Regions from separate parts of the Homo sapiens genome. Here all the other regions are linked to region 2. The links are contacts of gene promoters, found by promoter capture Hi-C in human tissues and cell types (Jung and others, 2019). All regions are on one chromosome and are shown on one strand. Each heading gives the region's core, a stretch centred on a gene start or on the middle of the fragment in contact. The rest is flanking DNA. Distances are from core to core; before and after follow the strand shown.

The links. The method cuts DNA at HindIII sites, captures the fragments that hold promoters and counts their contacts. A contact is called where the count stands out against the background at its distance.
Region 1: a fragment that was not itself captured here is called in contact with the fragment with the promoter of PIK3R5 in region 2 in 2 of the 25 tissues and cell types used here (heart left ventricle and mesendoderm cells).
Region 3: a contact is called between a fragment that was not itself captured here and the fragment with the promoter of PIK3R5 in region 2, in 1 of the 25 tissues and cell types used here (IMR-90 fibroblasts).

The regions. Positions count from the first base shown.
Region 1 is chr17:9,556,018-9,559,642 of GRCh38, forward strand. STX8 (syntaxin 8) reads right to left here. Exons shown (of 8, transcript NM_004853.3): 3 at 1,417-1,511. Among named protein-coding and RNA genes, the nearest start is that of STX8, 18 kb to the right of the region's middle. The HindIII fragment of the contact is 6,164 bases long and covers 1-3,625 here.
Region 2 is chr17:8,963,447-8,967,461 of GRCh38, forward strand. PIK3R5 (phosphoinositide-3-kinase regulatory subunit 5) reads right to left here and starts at 2,261. Exons shown (of 19, transcript NM_001142633.3): 1 at 2,150-2,261. PIK3R5-DT (PIK3R5 divergent transcript) reads left to right here and starts at 2,401. Exons shown (of 3, transcript NR_184080.1): 1 at 2,401-2,557; 2 at 3,321-4,015. RefSeq lists silencers at 2,185-2,504, 2,575-2,674. The HindIII fragment of the contact is 11,271 bases long and covers 1-4,015 here.
Region 3 is chr17:9,580,343-9,584,124 of GRCh38, forward strand. All of the region lies in intron 1 of CFAP52 (cilia and flagella associated protein 52), which reads left to right. Among named protein-coding and RNA genes, the nearest start is that of CFAP52, 5.6 kb to the left of the region's middle. The HindIII fragment of the contact is 5,237 bases long and covers 1-3,782 here.

The sequences.
Region 1 (3,625 bases), core at 872-3,371, 590 kb after region 2:
ATGGAAGGTAAAGTATCTCAGAATATTCCAATTGCGTTAAAAATAAGGCTGTAATTGTTTGAAATTAAACTTTTATTTGAAACCTTAGTGGATCCGTAATTGAATGTCTAGAAAACCATGCAACTAAGCCAACTTTCCTGGTGATATAAAGGTGTTACAATGGGGGAAAATATTTTTTAGAACACTTTCCATTTTTTTATCTAAAAAGCTGTATTCCTGTATTTCCTTATATTTAAAATCTGGCAATATCCATTCCCTGAAATACCAAAAATTGGGTCTTTGGCATGACCTACTGACAATTTAGAGAAATGATGAGAGAAGACCAGTTTCAGGTAAGTTTTCAAACCAATATACACTTGGGTGTAAAAAGTTAGTGTAGGTAACAAGTCACGTATATTTTCCTAAATTGATCAGATTATGAATTTCTCTTTTTTTATTATTTGAGACAGGGTCACACTCTGTTGCCCAAGCTGGAGTGCTTTGGCACGATCTCGGCTCACTGCAACCTCCGCCTCCCAGGTTCAAGTGATTCTCCTGCCTCAACCTCCTGAGTAGCTGGGAGTACAGGCGTGCACCACCACGCCCAGCTAATTTTTATATTTTCAGTAGAGATGGGGTTTCACCATGTTGACCAGGCTGGTCTCGAACTCCTGGCCTCAAGTGCTTGGCCTCCCAAAGTGCTGGGATTATAGGCGTGAACCATTGCACCTGGCCCAGATTATGAATTTCTAAAATATATATATATATATATATATATATATATATATATATATATATACACATACATATATATATATATATATTTTAACACTTGGTAGGAGGTTAAGATGATGGCATAACTTGCTTCAAGAAGTCCCATCCCACCCCTTCCCCTCACACTCCCATACTAGAGGCAGTGTCTGTGCCTCTGGAGGAAAAATAAGGCACATCTCAAATCTACATAAACACGGGGCAGGTGGTGAGAGGAGAGATGTATGGTTTCTACTGGTATTGCCCACTCCGAAAATAAATGGATCATTAAAAACTCTGGAAACTCCCAGAAGCGGAATCACAGCTTAGGATGATCATGGAAGTTTTCCTGTTGGAGCAGTAGCTAGCCATGGTCAAGGCGGTCTAGACAGAGAGCAGTGTGGGGCTCCGTAAATACCGCACTGACGGAAAACATTAGCTTCCTGAACTGTACAGGTTATACCCAAATAAGTTAATTCCCTCGGTAGGTCTTGCTTTGCCAGCATATTCACTGTAAAACATGTAACAGACACTTAAAATAGAAATCAAGATTACAGGCAATATTTTGGAAACCAGGTCTTCCTCAAGCTGTGGGAAAATCTGGGTGGCCCAGATTCCTTCCTTTCTTAAAATACGACTGCTTTTCCTCCCACTCTAGAAAAGAGGTGGAAATGTTTACATGGATACATCTGATGTGTTGACACAGCTCTTAGCAATAAGTCCTTCAAAAGGGCGATCTTTTCCTTCAGGTTCTGCAACAAAGCTCTGATTGTCACGGTAAGCTGAAAAGAAAAGAACACATCCTAAGTATTCTAGTCCAGAATGTAGAATCCACAAAATTACATCACGTAAACACTACTTCACGGGCTATGATGCAACCAAGCAAGGGCTGGAAGAGATAGATACTCAGCCCCTCACGACAAACTCAGGGCTGGAAGGAGGCTCAGTGGTGCCCTGGCCCAGCTGCCAACCTACAGCTTGTACCCGCTCCACAACCTGGCCAAGTGGTGAGCCAAGCCAGACTGGAACCCCGATACTGACTAGAAACTGTCAGTGTGCTCTCACCATCAGCTGAATCCTGTCACCTGAGCTTCTACCCCATTGATCCTATGTATCTACCTTGGAACCACGCAGGAAATTGTGTTCCCCGAGTCTTCATTTGAGAGCAAAAACCCACAGTTCTCTGAACCAGGCTTCAAACGACAAAGCATGGAGTCCCATTACCATCCCCACCAGGCTCTCTGAACAACTGGTAAAATTTATAACCCAATGAAACGTTTTACGGCAATGTGTTCTTTTTATGCAAGAGGAATGCTAACCACACATGACTCTTTTCCCAGGAGGGTGCGCATTTTCTCCAATCATCCTACAGGAAATTTTTGTCCGTGACTCTAACCTGTTACATTAAAGGATGGAGAAGAGGGCGAGAAGAGAGTCTCTCAGGAATTTGGAAATGTGAAAAAACTGCCTGTGTAAGTTAAAACATATTCAACCACGGATGAAATCAGACATATGTTAAAAACACAGAATACCACAGGTTTCCTTTGCTACCTTGTCAAAAGCAGCAATTATATAACTCAAGCGGACTCCCTCCTTGGATTTGCAGAATCACACCAAGGAAAACCAGCCAGTGTGTCAGAGACTGGCCCAGACTGCACACATCCAGCAGCCCTCCAAGGCACCAGCAGCCAAGAAAAGTCTAACCTGAACTATCCCCATACCCCTGGGAACCAAGGAACAATCACCTACAATGTTGTGGGGAAACACCAAGGAAAGCAGATCTCTCTACACTCAAAGAGAAAAGAGCGGCCGGGCGCGGTGGCTCACGCCTGTAATCCCAGCACTTTGGGAGGCCGAGGAGGGTGGATCACAAGGTCAGGAGATCCAGACGACGGTGAAACCCCGTCTCTACTAAAAATACAAAAAATTAGCTGGGCGCGGTGGCGGGCGCCTGTAGTCCCAGCTACGCGGGAGGCTGAGGCAGGAGAACGGCGTGAACCCTGGAGGCGGAGCTTGCAGTGAGCCGAGATCGCGCCACTGCACTCCAGCCTGGGCGACAGAGCGAGACTCCGTCTCAAAAAAAAAAAAAAGATAAAAGGGCAAAACAAGCAAACAAAAAGGCGCCACACACACCAGGCCTACGAAGAGGAGTCCACAAAATCAAAGACAAAAGCATTTGGGAGATGAAAGACGGAGTATGTAGCCATTAAAAATTATGGCTCAAATCTCTATTTGTTCACATAGAAAGATATCCATCACAGCTTATGAAAAAAACATCAAGTCATAAAATAAAATATCACCCAAACAGAGAAAAAACAACCCAGGAACTAAATACAAACATTGAAACCATGAAAGCACCATGGTTCTATCTAAGTAGTGGGATTTTCTAATATTTTATAAGAAAATGATCACTTTTGTAATCAGGAAAAAATGTCATTATCATAATTAAAGACACTTTCTAGAGCACAAAAAAAGATGGAAAGCCTAATTCACATTTTAAGCTACCATAACCTGGGTAACAAGCACTGACAGAGATAACCACATGTCAATCTTACTTAGGAATTATAAATGTAAAAATCTTTTCAAAAAATATTAGCAAAGCAAATTCAGAATTACATTAAAAAGGACCATATACTATCAACAAGTAGAAATTATTCTAGTAATTTAAGAACAGTTTGATGTTAGAAAAATCTAGTAATAAAGCTCATGGTGTTAATAATTAAAAACAGAATAAACATATGATTAGTACAGTACAGGGGAAATTATAAACAAAAGAAACACAAAAAAGAAAGAAAAACTAAGAATAGAACACTACTGCCTTAACTACAATATTATTTAACTTTGCTCTAGAAGTTCTAACCAATACAATAAGAAAAATTAAAGAAAAATACAAGGA
Region 2 (4,015 bases), core at 1,011-3,510:
TCATGCCAACATCAACCCCAAATGCTCTTGTCACCCAGTGCCACCAGTTAGCATCCAACCTATTCTTCTTCTTCTTCTTCTTTTTTTTTTTTTGTTTGTCTGTTTGCTTGAGATAGGGTCTCTCTGTGTCTGCCAGGCTATAGCGCAGTGAAGCGATCATAGCTCACTGCAGCCTCGAACTCCTGGGGTCAAGCAATCCTCCCACTTAAGCTTCTCGAGTAGCTGGGCAACCTGTTATTCTTGAGGGCAATAATCAACAGTGAATGGGAGGGAGGAAAGGCAAGCAGGGAGGCAGAGACTGTCTGCTTCTACTGCAGCCTGAGGAGGGAAGATAATGAATCATCCCTCTCGTAAGCTAGAGATGAAAGGAGGGAGGTTCTTAAAACCCTAATGAGGCTCAGCACACAAAGACCCCAAGCCTTCCTGCCCTCACAGTCCTGGTTTGTGAGGCTTCAAAAAGCAGGGGAGGGAGCCCTGAAGCAAGAAAGTAGCTTGACCATCCAAAACTGTCTTCTTTGTCTTCCACGGGTCCACAGGCAAAGACCCACACCACCACAGCCACAACGAGGAAACACGGAAGCCAGCGTTCTACAAACATCCACGGAGCATCTCCCACGTGCAGCCGTTCTCATCATACATGCCTCACTTAATTTTCCACACTGGGCCAGGCACAGTGGCTCATGTCTATAATCCCAGCACTTTGGAAGGCCAAGGTAGACGGATCGCTTGAGCTCAAGGAATTTGGGACCAACCTGGGCAACATGGCAAAACCCTGCCTCTACAAAAAATACAAAAATTAGCTGGGCGCCGTGGTGCTGACCTGTAATCCCAGCTACTTGGGAGGCGGAGGCGGAGGATTGCTTGAGCCTGGGAATTTAAGGCTGCAGTGAGCCATGATCACGCCACTGCACTCCAGCCTGAGTGACAGAGCAAGACCCTGTCTCAATAATAATAATAATAATAATTCCACACAGCTCTATGGGTCAGTATGACAGCCCATTTTATGAATCAGGAGACTGAGGCTGGGTTGGGGGACAGTGTGATGCTGCAGGTCACACAGCTGGATCCGGTTGGAACTTGGGTCTCTTTTCCACATCATGCATGGTTCCCAAGCAACGGCTTCAGCATCATCACTTAAGGAGCTCATTCAAAGTTTTGAAAACTACAGATTCCAGATCCCATCCCTGGAAAGCCACGTTGTAGGGTTGGCTCCAAGAGAGCCCTACCTGCAGTCAGCTCTGGGAGCCAGTGCCTTACAGGTGGTCCTGAGGGCAGGAAGGAAAGTGTGGGGTGGATGAGAAGACACAGAAGGAAAACGAGGGTGTCAGTCCAGAGAGGACCTTGGAGGCAGGCTTGGCCTACTTTTAGCCCTTATTCTGCCTAAACCCACCCCTCCTCTCTACTCCGAGTCTTGTTAACTCGCTTTATACCACATCCTGCTGCTTTAACCTCGCCTTCCTTTTCCTTCTGAACAATCTCCTTCCTCCTACTGACCTGAACTTTTTGTGTATTTACCCCAGGCCGGGATGGGCCAGCACGCGCACATGCGCATGCCCACACACACACACACACACACACACACACGAGTCACGCGGGGATGTCCAGTGTGTAAACACAGATCCTCTGAGAGCAGAAAGCGTGCAGTTCTCTAGGACAGCAGCCGCGTCTGGGCCCAAGGCTGGCTAACTAGCAGGCTGAGTGAGGCTCGACGGAGGGCGCCTTACGCGGGCACTTCCATGACTCCCAGGTTCTGACGGCACAAGAGCCCTGATGCCCACGCTCACGGACAGTTCCCCGCTGGAGCGGGCAGGGGACCTGACCCTACGACACAGGGCGTCCTGTGTCAGAGGCAGGAGGCTGAGGACACAGCTGCGCAGAGCCGCCCAGCAGAGGTTACCCGGATAACGATAAGTGGTCCCCGCGACGCCCCTTAAGTCTCTGGGGTTATCTGGAGCGCAGGTTTGCAGACCCGCTGCCCCCGCGGTGGGCCAGGTCCACGGGGCCGGAAGATAGCAGGATCTGTCCAGCCCTCGGGCTGCGGCGGCTGCTCGCGGAGCCCACTCTCCCCGACGGTCCCCAGCTTGCTCCAGCTCTGCCTGGAGCTCCCATGCGTGCCCTCCGCATCCGCCCTGGCCGCCCAGTCACACACCTGCAGTCCCCGCCGGGCGCCGAGCCCCTCTCCAGCGGCGACTCCCTGCGATTCGGGTGACCGTCGGGACCACCGCGCCCCAGCTGGAGCCGCGCGGCGAGCCGCAGCATCTGCCCAGCCTGGGCTCCTCCGGCGGGCGGGGCGGAGCCTGTCAGGGGGCGGGGCCTAATGGGGCGGGGCTGACCGCGGAGCCGGCCTCTCCAGCCACCTGGCGGCCCGGCAGCGTCAGCCAGGTGCGCGCCCGGCCCCACATCCTCTGGGTCACGCCCCCGAGGCCGCAAGGCGTCTGAGAAGCAGCCCCGGCTCTGACCCGCCAGCCCTCGGAAGAAGCAGACCCTGGCCGGTCCATGGCAGTGGCCCGAGGGGCACCAGCGCGGAGCACCAGCGACCCCCAAGGAGTAAGGGGAGGTTAGGCCCCCGCGTCGGAAGCGCGGCTTTGGCCCCGCAGGAGGGCTGGGCGGAGCAGGGGGGCAGGTCTGGGGTAGGGGCTTAGGGGAAAGACGAGAAAGAGGAAGCTCCGACGAGCTGCTTCCTTCTCTCACTGCGACCCACTTCCTCTTCCTACTTCTATTTTCTTTCTTTTTTTTTTTTTTTTTTTTGAGATGGAGTCTCGCTCTGTCGCCAGGCTGGAGTGCAGTGGCACGATCTTGACTCCCCACAACCTCCGCCTCCCGGGTTCAAGCGATTCTCCTGCCTCAGCCTCCCGGGTAGCTGGGACTACAGGCGCGCGCCACCACGCCCAATTTTTTGTATTTTTACTAGAGACGGGGTTTCACCATGTTGGCCAGGATGGTCTCGATCTCTTGACCTCGTGATCCGCCCGCCTCGGCTTCCCAAAGTGCTGGGATTACAGGCGTGAGCCACTGCGCCCGGCCCCTACTTCTATTTTCTTTGGGTGCCCTTAACCCTTAAAATGCCTGCACTACTGCTGTGCAGACGGGCACCTTGACCCGCATCCTTCTGCAGGAACCTTCATAGAAATACCAGCCAGTCCCGGCGTTCAGCACTGCTGTTCCAGCCTCTGGCTGGACTTCCCGCCCTCCCTGGCCGGCACCAAGGCTACTGTCACCTGAGTGGTTTCCCCAGCCCCTGGGGAAGGGAGTGAGGGTGTGCGGGAGTTCCTGCCTCCAGGGTCAAGGCCCTCTTCTTGCCTCCCCCTTTTCTCCCCCAGACGACGTTGCAGATGATGCTCTACCAAGAGTTGGAAGGACTCCCCAGGGAATCCCACAAGACACTGCGCTTCCTATGCCTCCTTTCCCTCGTTTAAAAAATGGGGATAAGAAGGTTGGCTACTGCTCCGACAGCCCTCACAATGGAAGAGTAGCACTTCATTTGTGGGTTAACAAAGGGCAACGCTGAAATCTCCACTTCCACTATTGAATGGAACTGTGTCATAATATCTGTTAGAGGCGTGCAAACTCGGCCACAAGGTCATGGTCATACGTTATTGTTGGTCAAAAGCCGCAGCCCTACCTGAGGCTTTGAGAGATATGAACACCAATGACTTTTCTTTTCCTGACTCCCGAAATACCAAGAAAAAGCAACTTCCCCAAATGGACAGAAACAGAAAGTACCCTTGGTTGAACACAGAGGCCTGGTTCCAGCCATCGTTAGACGTGGGAAGGAACTCAGACCCCCTCTCCTACCTCATCCCCAACCCCTTCCCCACACGTCACCCTTTCACAGAGAAGGAACCAGAGCCACCAAGGGCTGAGAGAGGACTTGATAAGGATTCCAGTCTTCTGTCTCCCCTGTCCCCACTTTTTCCACCACAAAAATATGGACATTTGGAAGAAGAGGAGAAGAGGGAAGGTACACACTGTGCAAAGGAAGAAAATGGCAGAAATGCTCTGGAATCAGGAATTC
Region 3 (3,782 bases), core at 1-2,500, 620 kb after region 2:
CCTGTAAATAGGTAAATAAATATAAATGGCTATTAGCTCAAAAAGCTTAAAAATGCTATTAAAGTTCATGTGCGGTGGCTCACACCTGTAATCCCAGCACTTTGGGAGGTTGAGGCAGGAAGATTCCTTGAGGCCAGGAGTTTGAGACCAGCCTGGGCAACATGGTGAAACCCTATCTCTATAAAAAATACCAAAAAATAGCCAGGCATGGCGATGCATGCCTGTAGTCCCAGCTATTCGAGAGGCTGAGGTGGGAGGATCACCTGAGCCCGGGAGGTAGAGGCTGCAGTGAGCCATCACTGTACCACTGCACTCCTGCCTGGGCAACAGAGTGAGACCTGGTCTCAAAAAAAAAAAAAAAATGCTGTTAAAGCAGTGATGGTTTTTGCTTCTCAAACTGGCAAAGGCAAAAAAAGAAAAAAAAAGGGTAATATAATAAGGTGAGAATAAGAAATGGTTCTCAATTACTACTGCCGGTATTAATTTTACAACCTTGTTGAAGGCCAGTTTTATAGTATCTATTACAATTCTTAATGAAGATAATCTTTGAGCTTTTAAGAACTTGAATCACTTATTCAAGTTTTCAAAAAATTTACGTGCAATGAAGTTCACTGTGATATTGTCTATAATAGCTGAAACATTGGAAGAAACAACCCAAATATCCATTGGTAAGAAGTTTTAAAAAACTACGTGGCCAGGCGTGGTGGCTCACGCCTGTAATCCCAGCACTTTGGAAGGCCCAGGCGGGTGGATCACGAGGTCAGGAGATGGAAACCATCCTGGCTAACACGGTGAAACCCCGTCTCTACTAAAAATACCAAAAAATTAGCCGGGCGCGGTGGCGGGCACCTGTAGTCCCAGCTACTCGGGAGGCTGAGGCAGGAGAATGGCGTGAACCCGGAAGTGCTGGTTGCACAGCATTGTGAATGCACTAAATGCCACTGAATTGTTCACGTTAAAACAGTTAATTTTATGTTATGTGAATTTCACTCCAATAATTTTTAAAATTATATTCCTTTTGTGCAATTTGATACTGTACAATCCTTAAGAAAAATGGAATAGATGTATATAAACTAATGAGGAAAGATGTCAAAGATATATTAAGTATAAAATGCAATTTGCCATACAGTGTATATGATATGAGCCTATTACAGTTTAAAGTGTACATATGTTTGAGAGAGAGAGAGGGGATAGAGAGAGAGGAGAGGGAGGGAGGGACAGAGGGAGACAGAGAGGGAGGGAAAGAAGGCGAGAGAGAGAGAAAATGGAGTGTGTGTGAGTATGTCTGGAGAAGAGAGCAAAGAATATGAATTGTAGTGGACATGCGTAGTTTTGGTTACTCATATCTGAATACTATTCTATTTGAGAAGTATCCCAAGATAGGTAGGAGCTGGTTCTATTGCTTTAGTGAGAGCCTAAAAGAGGCACATATTTTCTCTCCTAATTCCTTGGCAGCCAATTGAGAGATGTAACATAATTGGCTCAGCCAATCAGACATTCCCACTCCGCAGTTCCACTCTTATAGGAGTGATGCAAAGGAGCATTGAGCGTTGAGCAGTGTGGCCATGAGAGGTCTTTAGTTCGTGTCACTTGGTCTCGCCTTGCTATTAGTTCTGCCCATTTTTCAAGTGTGACCCAAACTTCCTGCCAGTTGTGTGAGCAATATGTATTCCTTCCATATAATTCTTTTTCTGCTACATTTAGCCAGAGTTGACTCTTCTAGTTTGCAACCAAGAACCATAATTTTTAAATGCAAAAACAAAAATAAATCTGAAGAAATACACACCTGCATGTTACAAGGTTATCTCTGGGCAGGTTGCACACCTAAGAATAGAGTAGCTGGGTCCTGGGGCATGTGCGCATTCAAGCATCATCAATAAAGACACATTGTTTTCCAAAACGATTAGACCGATTTACTCTCCCACCAAGCATTTTATGAGTGTTGGCTTTGTTCCACATCAACACAGATGCCTGGTACTGTCAGCCATCTTAATTTTAGCCATTTTGGTGGATATGACATGGTATCTCATTTCGGACATAATTTACATTTTCCTGGTTACTTATGAGGTTGCATCTCTTTTTGTAGGTTTATTGGGTTTTGAATTTCCTTCAGCATAAACTGGCTATCCATATCCTTTGCTCATTTTTCTATTGAGAAGCATATGTTTTCCTTATTGCCTTGTAGGAGTTCTTCGTATATTATGGAGATGATCCTTTGTCTATTGTATACATTGAAAATATCTTCTTGTTTGTGTTTTTCTCTTCATCCTTCCAATAACAATGTCTTTAGTAATTAAATTTTTTGATTTTTTGAGAAAGAGTCTCACTCTGTCACCCAGGCTGGAGTGCAGTGGCACAATCTCAGCTCACTGCAACATCCACCTCCCAGGTTTAAGCGATTCTCCTGCCTCAGCCTCTCAAGTAGCTGGGATTATAGGTGTCCACCACTACGCCCAGCTAATTTTTGTATTTTTAGTAGAGACAGGGTTTCGCCATATTGGCTAGGCTGGTCTCAAACTCCCAGCCTCGAGTGATCTGCCTGCCTCGGCCTCCCAAAGTGCTGGGATTACAGGCATGAGCCACCCAGCCCAGCCTAGATGTTTTTCATTTTTCACATAACTGGGTAAATATTTCAGCCTTTTCTTTTATGATTTGCTCTTTTTGTGTCATAGTTGGAAAGTCATTTCTTACTTTTGTACACACTGTCTTGTTTTTCACATTTAGGTCTTTGATCTACCTGGAAGATATTGTTTGTGTAAGGTGTGAATTATGAATCTAAGTTTAATTTTTCCATATGGATAGCCATATGATTGTTTATAAAGAACCTGCAATTAGAAAACTATAAAAAATTTTTAGTAGGAATAGATCACCCTAAAGACATAAACCTTGGTATTATAAGAACATACTGCATAAAAAAGGAACACTCAATTAAAATGAAAAAAAATCATTTATTCAATAATTACATTTGGCCATTTGAGCAAAAATAATCCATTTAGCTACAGGAATCACATAAAGCACCAAAATAAATTCCAGAGGGAGTTAAATATAAAAGAAGCATTCATTTAAGAACAAGAAGATTATATTAATAAATATTTATGAGTCTTTCGATGGAGAAGGAGATAGCAACAAAAAAGTTTTTTAAAAACCCAAGAATAAATGTAATAAGAAATGAGTGAGATCTTTATGAAAAAAATGGAAAATGCTACTAGAAGGCATAAAAGGAGACTTATGAAGAAACATATCCTGTTTTTAAAATAGAGGTATTTTATATTATTATAAAAATCATTTTCCCTTAAGTTAATCTATACATTTAATACTATCTCACTAAAAACACAATCATGAATTTTAAATAGCCAAGGTGACATGCAAGTTTGTATTGTAAAATAAACACGAAGAGCAATCAAAAAAATTCTGACCATAGGTGAGCAATAATGGAGGACCTGGGTCTGTTTCATATTAAAACATATTACAAGGGTTTATAATTGTTGAGATGGTTCTTGGTATAACCAAAATCAAGTTTGGGCCACTTGTCACTTGAAAGCTAAAAACTCAAGAGATGAGCTTTGGTGAAAGGAAGGTTAGCTTTATTGGAGAAGCCAGCAACCCAGGGGAGACAATAAACTAGCGTTCAAAGACCACCTCACCGAGTTGAGTCTCTGAATCAGGGAAATTAGAGGAATAATGATCAAAGCATTTTTGTGAAACATGTGCAGTCTCAGGTAGGCAGTTAGTCAATATGTTGGGGCCTTCTGCAGATGCCATCTGCCCTGTTCTTACCAGGC